2 separate regions of the Homo sapiens genome follow, and region 2 is linked to region 1. The links are contacts of gene promoters, found by promoter capture Hi-C in human tissues and cell types (Jung and others, 2019). All regions are on one chromosome and are shown on one strand. Each heading gives the region's core, a stretch centred on a gene start or on the middle of the fragment in contact. The rest is flanking DNA. Distances are from core to core; before and after follow the strand shown.

What was found. Contacts are between HindIII fragments. The study calls those that stand out against the background at their distance.
Region 2: a fragment that was not itself captured here is called in contact with the fragment with the promoter of GRIN3A in region 1 in 1 of the 25 tissues and cell types used here (dorsolateral prefrontal cortex).

The regions. Positions count from the first base shown.
Region 1 is chr9:101,736,262-101,741,299 of GRCh38, reverse strand. It overlaps GRIN3A (glutamate ionotropic receptor NMDA type subunit 3A), which reads left to right and starts at 2,653. Exons shown (of 9, transcript NM_133445.3): 1 at 2,653-4,019. The coding sequence starts at 3,321. RefSeq lists enhancers at 2,296-2,819, 2,820-3,344 and a silencer at 4,239-4,533. The HindIII fragment of the contact is 8,904 bases long and covers 633-5,038 here.
Region 2 is chr9:102,834,651-102,839,688 of GRCh38, reverse strand. No RefSeq gene overlaps it. Among named protein-coding and RNA genes, the nearest start is that of CYLC2, 160 kb to the left of the region's middle. The HindIII fragment of the contact is 3,282 bases long and covers 431-3,712 here.

The DNA.
Region 1 (5,038 bases), core at 1,404-3,903:
GCCCTCCACTCTTAACCACTGTTCATCTATCAGTAACAAAACAACTGTAGCGATCCCGTTAAAGTATTAATTCTATCACTCTTCTGCCCAATGTCCCTGCCTTCATGCCTTCTCATCTCATTCAGAGTAGATGCCAAAGTTCATTTGCTTACATTGTCTGCCACCTCTTCATTGCCTCTCTGACCTGACCTGCCACCACTTTCACCCTGGATCATTTTGCTCCGGCCACTCCAGACCCCTCATTATTCTTTAAACCTTCCAGAAACACTCGGGGCCTTGGCATGTAGTTTCCCCTGCTTGGGAATTCTTGCCTAGAGTATTCACATGAATCACTCCCTTACCTCCCTTTACATCTTTATTCAAAAGCTGTCTTCTCCGAGAGGTCTTCCCTGGCTTTCTCACCTAAAATTACAACCCAACCTCTTCCTAATACTTCCTCTACACTGCTTTCTTTTTCCACTTAGCACAAACTAACATACCCTACATTTATTTACTTATTTGTATATTTTATTGTCTCTTTCACACTAGAATATAAGCTCTATGTTAGCATTTTGTTCACTTATTGACTATGTGATGTTGTGGAAAGGAGAAAACTCAACTTTTCTAGAGTTTATTCATCTGTTTCCAGGATGGTCCTACAACAATGATTGACACATACTAGGAGCTTAATAATTGGTTGTTGAATTTAAGTGAACTTTGAAAATGATGACCCTTGACACATGAAAAAGGTGGACAAGAAGGAGAAAGGGAAAAGGAAAAAGAAGATTTGGGGAAAGGAGAGAGAACAATTTTGTCAGATATGCTCAGACCACCATGATATGGACAAAGAAAACCAAGCAGCAAAAGGAAAACAGGAAGGACACCAGTGAATTATAATGGGAAAGCCCGGAAAGAAACAAAAGGAAGCCCAAGAAGGGAGAGCCATTCTTCATTGTTCACTCAGTATTCACCAGGTTTAAGTAGAGTTTTATCACGACCTGGTGCAGTATTATCCTCAGAAACTTGGGAAGGTCTTCTGTGTAAGAGCAGTTCAGTTATTCCCTCAAGGCAGTCATGAACTTGTGAAAAACCTAATGCATATAGAGTGATTCTAGGATGCTATTAATGATCAGATCAAACTATTCTCCATCATCATGTTTTTCTTGAGAACCTGATCTGAACATAAGTGTAATGCCAAGGACTAAAAGTACAAGGACTAAGCATGGTCATAACCTAGAAAGTTATACATTATATTCTTCAAAACACACACTCGAGTACAGACAAATATACCTCCTTACTACACAATTAGTAGATACCCAATCTTCCTGCAATGCAAGGACCTCAGACTTCTACACTTTTATTATTCAGATCTCAATCAGTGGAATCCTGTGGATCAAGGGGGAATTTCCAGCACACTAGAGGCAGCTTTTCTCCATTCATGGGATGTTCTCTCAGGCTTCAGGAGGGTTTCTTTCCCTCCTCATTCAGCCCACTACTATGATTTTCACTTTTTTTCTCATGGGAGACTTTTCTTCTCTAGCAACCCAGTCTTGCAAAAACGATGCCGAATGTCTGGTAAATTTGTTCTGAGATACCTTTAAAGATCTGGGCTGGGGAAAACAGCATTCACTTTGCAAGCTTCTTGGGATTTTTACTTAACTAGAGTCTCTTCTTCCCAGGATTTAAAACATGATGGAAACTTTAGCTCATGAATCAAAACAACCCTCCAGAGCTAAAAGCCAGCTGTATTTGCATAACAATTTAGCAGATCCAAACAGCAGGGCAAGGTCGGGTGAAATAAGTTGCCAAGGTCATGGTCATGAAGTAGTATTAGACTCAGAAAGGCTGATCCCCAGTGCTTGCTCCACCCCATGGATCTCTCCTACCCTCCTTCTAAACGATACTGTGGGATAAAATAAAATTAATCTACTGTATATGTGCAAACCACAGGCCTGCCCTTAACTCTTTCCTTACCTTCTAGTTTCAGATTATTCAAATCATGGAGGAAAAGATTAGATCACAACACGTTGACTTCACTGTATTACCATACAAATGAAATAACTTAGTACAAACTGTGATCTGGGGACTCTTGATCTAAACTGGGAACTGCTGTTGACTGCATTTTAAACTCTAAAAGTATTTTGAAACTCTTTAATTTCTTGAACTGAAAAAATTGCTTTGAATTCACTTTGTTTTAATTCTGAGAACCTAAAAACAGGGATTCTTTAAAAAAAAAATGCAAAGGCTCACATGCCAGAAAGAAAGAAGCTGAGGAGATAAAAATGTGTAAATAATTCTTACTTTAATACCCTTAGCTAGAAAAACCTTAAAAGCGACACATCCAGAAGCTCGTTAAGTCACAGCCTCTTTGAACCTATTTCAGTGAACCACCGAATTTCAGATCCCTCAGGTGCGACTCTGAATTCAGAATTCTCACCGGCTCATAGTCCTATTTTCCTTCTTAGGTTTTAGGGAATTTTGCAAACTATGACGCCCAGCCTTTGAGGGGAGAGGACTTTCCAGGGGCGCGGGATGTGCCACTCGGGAATCTCACCAACAGTGGGCGTTTAGCGCAGCCAAGCGACAGGCAGGCGCCAGGGCTCAGCAACAGGGAGGCGCCGGCTGAGGCGGGGAGAACTTTGGCGCTCGGAGCAGAGCCACCCTTTGCTGGCCAGTCGCGTTGCTCCTCCGAGGAAGCAAGCGGCGGTGGCGACTCGGTGGAAAAATAACGAAAGAAAGGCAGAGAGGAAGTAGCGAGAGAAGAGAGAAAATGAAGTCGGCGCTGGGGGAGCCTGCAGGAGGGTGGCCAACAGTGGAGGAAGGTGGATTTGGCTTCTTTTCCGCACCCCGGGCGTGAAAGCCCTCTCCAACGCGACCCCAGGAAATAAGTGGGTCTCGCCTGGGCAGAAAAGGAAAAGAATCCAGGCGAGAGCGCGTCGCTCCTCTGTCACTGCTGCCCCCGAGGAACTCCGGCTGCTTCTCATCCCGGCCGCCTCGCGGGGCCGGACGCAGTGCCCGAGGCGCCCTGCAGATGGGGCGGGCAGGGAACGGGCGCTCCAGCTGCGGGTGACAGGCGCCGGCCCGCCCGCCTGCCTGCTCAGCGCAGTGACCGGGCGGGCAGAGGATGCCAGGCGGAGGGACCTGGGAGCGGGATCTGAGACTGCCGGAGGCGCGCTACGCTCCAACTTGCATGGCCTAGAGACCGCTCCAGCTCCTGGGACCGCTTCACCGAGTGGAGTGAAGCTGCGCGCGGGACCTGGAGGCGGAGACCTCAGGCAGCGGCTGCAGAGGGGCGAGCCGGGCGCAGGAGGGGGCGCGCTTTCTCCCTGCGGGTCTCAGTAATGAGGAGACTGAGTTTGTGGTGGCTGCTGAGCAGGGTCTGTCTGCTGTTGCCGCCGCCCTGCGCACTGGTGCTGGCCGGGGTGCCCAGCTCCTCCTCGCACCCGCAGCCCTGCCAGATCCTCAAGCGCATCGGGCACGCGGTGAGGGTGGGCGCGGTGCACTTGCAGCCCTGGACCACCGCCCCCCGCGCGGCCAGCCGCGCTCCGGACGACAGCCGAGCAGGAGCCCAGAGGGATGAGCCGGAGCCAGGGACTAGGCGGTCCCCGGCGCCCTCGCCGGGCGCACGCTGGTTGGGGAGCACCCTGCATGGCCGGGGGCCGCCGGGCTCCCGTAAGCCCGGGGAGGGCGCCAGGGCGGAGGCCCTGTGGCCACGGGACGCCCTCCTATTTGCCGTGGACAACCTGAACCGCGTGGAAGGGCTGCTACCCTACAACCTGTCTTTGGAAGTAGTGATGGCCATCGAGGCAGGCCTGGGCGATCTGCCACTTTTGCCCTTCTCCTCCCCTAGTTCGCCATGGAGCAGTGACCCTTTCTCCTTCCTGCAAAGTGTGTGCCATACCGTGGTGGTGCAAGGGGTGTCGGCGCTGCTCGCCTTCCCCCAGAGCCAGGGCGAAATGATGGAGCTCGACTTGGTCAGCTTAGTCCTGCACATTCCAGTGATCAGCATCGTGCGCCACGAGTTTCCACGGGAGAGTCAGGTGAGAGGAGCCTGGTGCGTGGAGTGGAGATGGGCGCTGCTGGGGGCCGGGGCCATTGCATGAGGGGAGAGAAAACGGCTTGGTAAAGTCTGAGGGGAGTTGTTACTTTATAACTTTGATATTGCTTAACGATTGGGCCATGTTCGTAGGTGGTAGGTAGAAGGAGCTTAGTAGAAGTAGAATAAAATATTTAAAGCGCGGATGGAAATAAAACGCGCAGTGAGGTCGCGGCTGGAAGGAAAGAAGTGGGGAGAATATGAGAGAAAATCATATTTTGACCGGCTGGGAGAAATCTAGTAGATGCCCGACGGGAAGTAGAAGTCGAGGTTCAGGACCGTGGAGAGCGGTGAAGGTTCTGAAGAACTACAAGAGCAGGGTATGGGGGTGGGGTATCCCTGACTCCTGGCTAGGTGTCACACTCCCAAGAGCAACTCTGACAGCATGTGTCGGAAAAGCAGCATCTGCTCTCTCTGACTTCTTCAGAAGGTGTGCCTGAGCCTTAGGCAAAGGTGTAAGGAAGAAAGCACATCGCTCTGAATTCCTCTGGGTAAATAGAAAATCTGCACCTAGTACAGAAGCCATAGGTAGAGAAGAGTGGTCAATTAGTCTCGGATATTGGAAAGCATTAGAAATATATAAAAGTGTAAAGATGGACGGGGAGATTTATTTGGGGATTGTTTCTTTGTCCCTACTTTCCTTCTATGTAATGTGGACTCAGAGGCTGGTATTCAGTTGCTGTGTTCAGCCCATTTCTCTCCCCATCATCTAAGAATTAAAAAAAAAAAGGAATTAAATGATTTAGTTTCTTATTGATTAAAAAAGCTAAACATATTTTCAATGAAAGAGCTATTTGTGAACTTAACGTTGACAAGTAATAATGAGGAGATGAATCTTTAAGAACAAGACAGAGTCCTTATTTAGTAATGAGTTTTCTGCCTTTTATATGTTACTTTTATCATAATCTCAAGCTGTGTTAAGCCTTGCACAAAGTATCTATGAAGCAAATAGGTAATTGGCAT
Region 2 (5,038 bases), core at 822-3,321, 1.1 Mb before region 1:
TGTGTGTGTGTGTGTGTGTATCCTATTAGCTCTGTCCCTCTAGAGAACCATGACTAATATACTTACTTCTTTAAAGAGCCTATCTCCAATTACGGTTACTTTCTGAGGTGATGGGTATTATGACTTTGACATATAAATTGGTGGTGGGGTTGGGGAGACATAATCCAACACATAACTATCCCAGAATTGGTTTATAATTGAAGCTATTAATGTAGGTCAAGGTGAACTGATTAGAAAAGTAGCAAATAACAGAGACAAAAATAAATGAGATGAGGCAGCCTTGTTGAAGAGCCATAGCTTAGTTCGACTTGGGGGCTGACCAAAGTTATTCTTGGATGCTTTGTAGATAGTCACAAGAATATTCATGAGATACTAGTAAGAGAATTAATAAACTACGTAAAGCTTAAAACAGCACTAAGACTTTTGGAAATATACGTGTGTGTGTGTATGTGTAAAGCTTAAAACAGCACTAAGACTTTTGGAAATGCGTGTGTGTGTGTATAGTAGTAGCAGAAGAATTGCCTTTAGTTGTACCTATGTTTCTGCAAAAAAAAAACCCACATAATTTTATTCATTTTTATGGTTTATATGTATGTCATATTTTTTGAGACAGAGTCTTGCTCTGTTGCCCAGGCTGGAGTGCAGTGGCATGATCTTGGCTCACTCCAACCTCTGTCTCCCAGGTTCAAGCAATTCTCATGCCTCAGCTTCCCAAGTAACTGTTATTACAGGTATGTGGCACCATGCCTGGCTAATTTTGTTTATTTTTTGTAGAGATAGGGTTTTACCATATTGCCCAGGCTGGTCTCGAATTCCTGAGTTGAAGTGATCCACCTCCCTTGGCCTCTCAAATTGCTGTGATTACAGGCATGAGCCACCATACCTGGCCTGGAAATACATTTTTAAGTATCCTCATAAGTTTGAAAATAAAAACAAATATTAAGACTGTAGAACAAGTTAGTAAGAAAAATAAATTGACTATGTAAACTGAGTATCTCTATAATGTCTAGGGTTAAAAGTAATGCAAAATATTTATCACTTTTCTTTTCAAAATGAGTATTTAGAAAACATCTAGGCTATAATCTTGGAGTAAGAGTTTCAAATTTAATTAATTCAGAAAGCACATGTAAACGTGAAAGGGTGACAAATTTGCTTATATTAAAATCCAAAGACATCTTGTCTTTCCCATATTATTAATGGACTAAAGAAGTTTCTGTACATTTTAAATAAATAACCTAGGCAATAGGTGATGGATTTTTAAAAGTCTTCTCCAAGCAGTGACAGAGTTTGACATATGAAACCTATTTGTCTTCATTATCTGTAAGCTGGAAGAATAAAAATTGAATTTAGACAAATACGTTAAACTTACCAACAGACATGCTTAGAGGTAGTGTGTGTTTTCATGAATTTAGAATTAAAATAAGTGGCTTATTTTAATTCTAATAAAGTAGGTCTTTCCCAGGGAAGCCTGAGGCAAAATAACTTATTTTCTGATCATCTCTGCTAAGTAGAGTTTGATAATTCTTTCTTTCTTGGAAGTATATGAGAATAAGTGCTTTTTTTTATTTTATGGTCTGTTAAAATGCCACTAATAAGCTTATCATTTTTTATGTAAACAAATTTATATTTATTAGTGAATTTTTCTGATGGTTATAACCTTTGAATATTTTAATTGGGCCAAATATTTTAGGTTTATAAAAATTAAAATTACTCAGCAAGTAACAAGAACAGAAGACAAACAAACTGAAAATATATATGGTGAATTTGTGTTCAAAATTACTATGAACTTAATGGATCTAAGATAGTGTTCAAATTGAAATGCTAGTGAAGTGGGGAATGTTTTACACAGGTTAGTATGAATCTCTGCATAATGCAAAAAGCCCTCAATTAGACTTATGGAAATTGAAATTGGAATATGATTTGCCAAGTTCTTTGGGAAGAACTAGGAATTTATTTCTCTTCCATGTCAGGACTACTATGAAGACATGGGATGAAAAAGAGTGTAGGATGTGCAGAAGAAGGGGGCAAAGAGATGAGAAAGAAAGGAAGAAGAGAAGTCTAGGAAGATGGAAACATAGGCAAATACTAGCAGAAGAATAGCCTTCAGTTGTACCTACGTTGCTGCCAAAAACATAATTCCATTCTTTTTATGCTTGCATAGTATTCCGTGGTTTATATGTATGCCATATTTTTATCTAGTTCACCACTGATAGGCATCTTAATTCCATGTTTTTGCGAGAGTGAAAAGTCTGCAATATGCATGTGCATTCATGTGTTTTATGGTAGAAAGATGCTAGAGACATCCTAAAGAAATTAACTCAGGAACAGAAGACCAAGTATCACATGTTCTCATCAGTGAGGGTTAAAAATTGAGTACATGTGTACACACAGAGAAGGATAGACACCAGGGCTTATTTCAGGGTGGGGAGTGGGAAGAGATTGAGGATCGAAAAACTACCTCTTGGGTACTATGCTGACTACCTGGGTAATGAAATCATTTGGACACCAACCCCAGCAACACAGAGTTTGCCCATGTAACAAGTTGATACGTGCATCCCCGAACATAAACGTTGGAGGAAAAATATTTGATTACAAAATAATAAGTAAAATAACAAGAAGTCCTTGGGAAACAAACCAAAGAAAAAAAATCATCGCAGAATAGATGAAGTGGAAAAAATGGGACCAAAAAGAGAATAAGAAAGGTGATAAAAGAAAAGATCAACATTTCAATGTGAAGAAGTATGAGAGGGAGAGAAGACAAGTGGAGAAAACGAAATGTGTAAAAAGAAGAGAGAAAAATGTGAGAAAAAACACATAAATGAGGAAGAATAAAAGGGAAGAGGAAAGAAGTCTGAAGAAAGAAAAAAATTGTGGTGATTTATGGGCTATTTTCTATTTCCAGTAACTATTCAAAATATATATTATTAGTTTAAATCATTTATGAAAAAATTACAAAATATATAATAGTTTAAATTATAAAATATAATTTAATAACCCCATTGTCTAGCTAAAGTAAAAAAAAAAAAGGAATGACATTAGCACATGGTATAGCTTAAAACCTATATGACGGGTTTAGGTGCAACAAACAACCATGGCACATGTATACCTATGTAACAAACCTGCACGTTCAGCACATGTATCCCAGAACTTAAAGTTAAAAAAAAAAAAAATACAAGATCATGTCCTTTGCAGGAAACTGGATGGAGCTGGAGGCAAGTAACCTTAGCAAACTAAAGCACGAACAGAAAACCAAATACCACAGATTTTCACTTATAAGTGGGAGATAAATGATGAAAACACACGGACACATAGAGAGAAACAACACGTACAGGGGCCTATTGGATGGTGAGGTTAGGAGGAGGGAGAGGATCAGGAAAAATAACTAGTGAGTACTAAGCTTAATACCTGGGTGATTAAAAAAAAATCTGTACAACAAATCCCCATGATACAAATTTATCTACATAGCAAACCTGCTCATTTACCTCTGAATTTAAAATAAAAGTTAAATTAAAAAAAATCCCACCATGTACTTCAGAAAATCGACCCACACAATCAAATTTTTAACATACCCTAGTATAATTTGTATATACAGATTGGGAAATTAATTTCAGCTGGCTCATGTTTAAACCTCTGATACAGTAACTACTAGTAAACCTTGTTCATGTAACTGCGCTTATGCTACGTTGCCTTGTACTTCCAACTAATACATATCAAATACATTGCTTTACTTCCTAAGAGCTTTTTTTTAAAAGTTAGAAAGTAAGAATGACTCCTCCACAGCCTCATTCTAATGTATGAATCTCCTACTGTCAATTAGGGGAGTTGAAGTGCTCAATAAATTCACAATGAAAAGAAGGCAAGGGTGTGTTATGTCTTGAGGAATCCAGCCTTAGCAGTGTCAAAGAGTGGACTATCAGAAAAAAATCCTCTGGGAATTTTATTTTTGATGACCAATTTTGAAGAAAATGTTTGGAATCTTTTAATTTGCCTGGATTATGCAAATTTTCTCCTACTGAAAAAATAAAAGCTTGAGGACAGTGTGATGCAAGTGAAATCAAGATTACTCAAATACTTTAATCTCCACCAGCCCACCAAATAATTTAATTGCTCAAGGATGGATAAATGACTACATACATAGTCTACAAAATGAATTGGTATCATACAAAAAAAATAAATAAATACAGTCTTAGATATACACAAGATGAACAACAGAAACAAACTGTCAGTAAAATATTCTTACCACTGATAACAGAATGCAACTTTTAATTATTTTCTGTTTTACCTAATTAAAAAATATATATTCAGTAAAAACATGAAAAAATGTTGAAATTGGCCAGGTGTAATGGCTCAGGCCTATAATCCCCGCACTTTGGGAGGCCGAGGCAGGTGAATCGGCTGAGGTCAGGAGTTCGTTACCAGCCTGGGCAACATGGTGAACCACCGTCTGTACTAAAAATACAAAAATTAGCTGGGTGTGGCGGCAGGCACCTGTAATCTCAGCTCCTTGGGAGGCTGAGGCAAGATAATCGCTTTAACCTAGGAGGCAGAGGTTGAAGTGAGCCAGGATCGCGCCACTGCATTCCAGCCTGGGCTACAAGAGCCAAACTCTGTCTCAGAAAAAAAAAAAAAAAAAAGTGAAATTAAGCAAGAGTGACTGAAAATATAGGTAGGTATGAATTGGGACTTGGGCAATAAAACAGAGGACTTACATTTCGTCTGCCTTCCTTTTCATTTGTCCCACTTCTCAAATTTTCATATTGTTTTTAGTATTATATTTATTATGTTTTAATGATTAATGAGATACTTAAACCATTGTTTTAAAAATTTTGAAAAGATTTTTATTTATCCTTACAAAAAACGAGGTTAACAGATTTTCACATAGGCCTACATCCAATACATCTCCAGCCTGATTGTTTGTATTATTGTTTTAGATCCTACCATGTTTACCATGATGCCGTAAATATTATATCGAATATATAGAACCTGATTCATCTACCTATGCAATTTCCCTTGAGAGTCAGAAACAGGAGGGAAAATT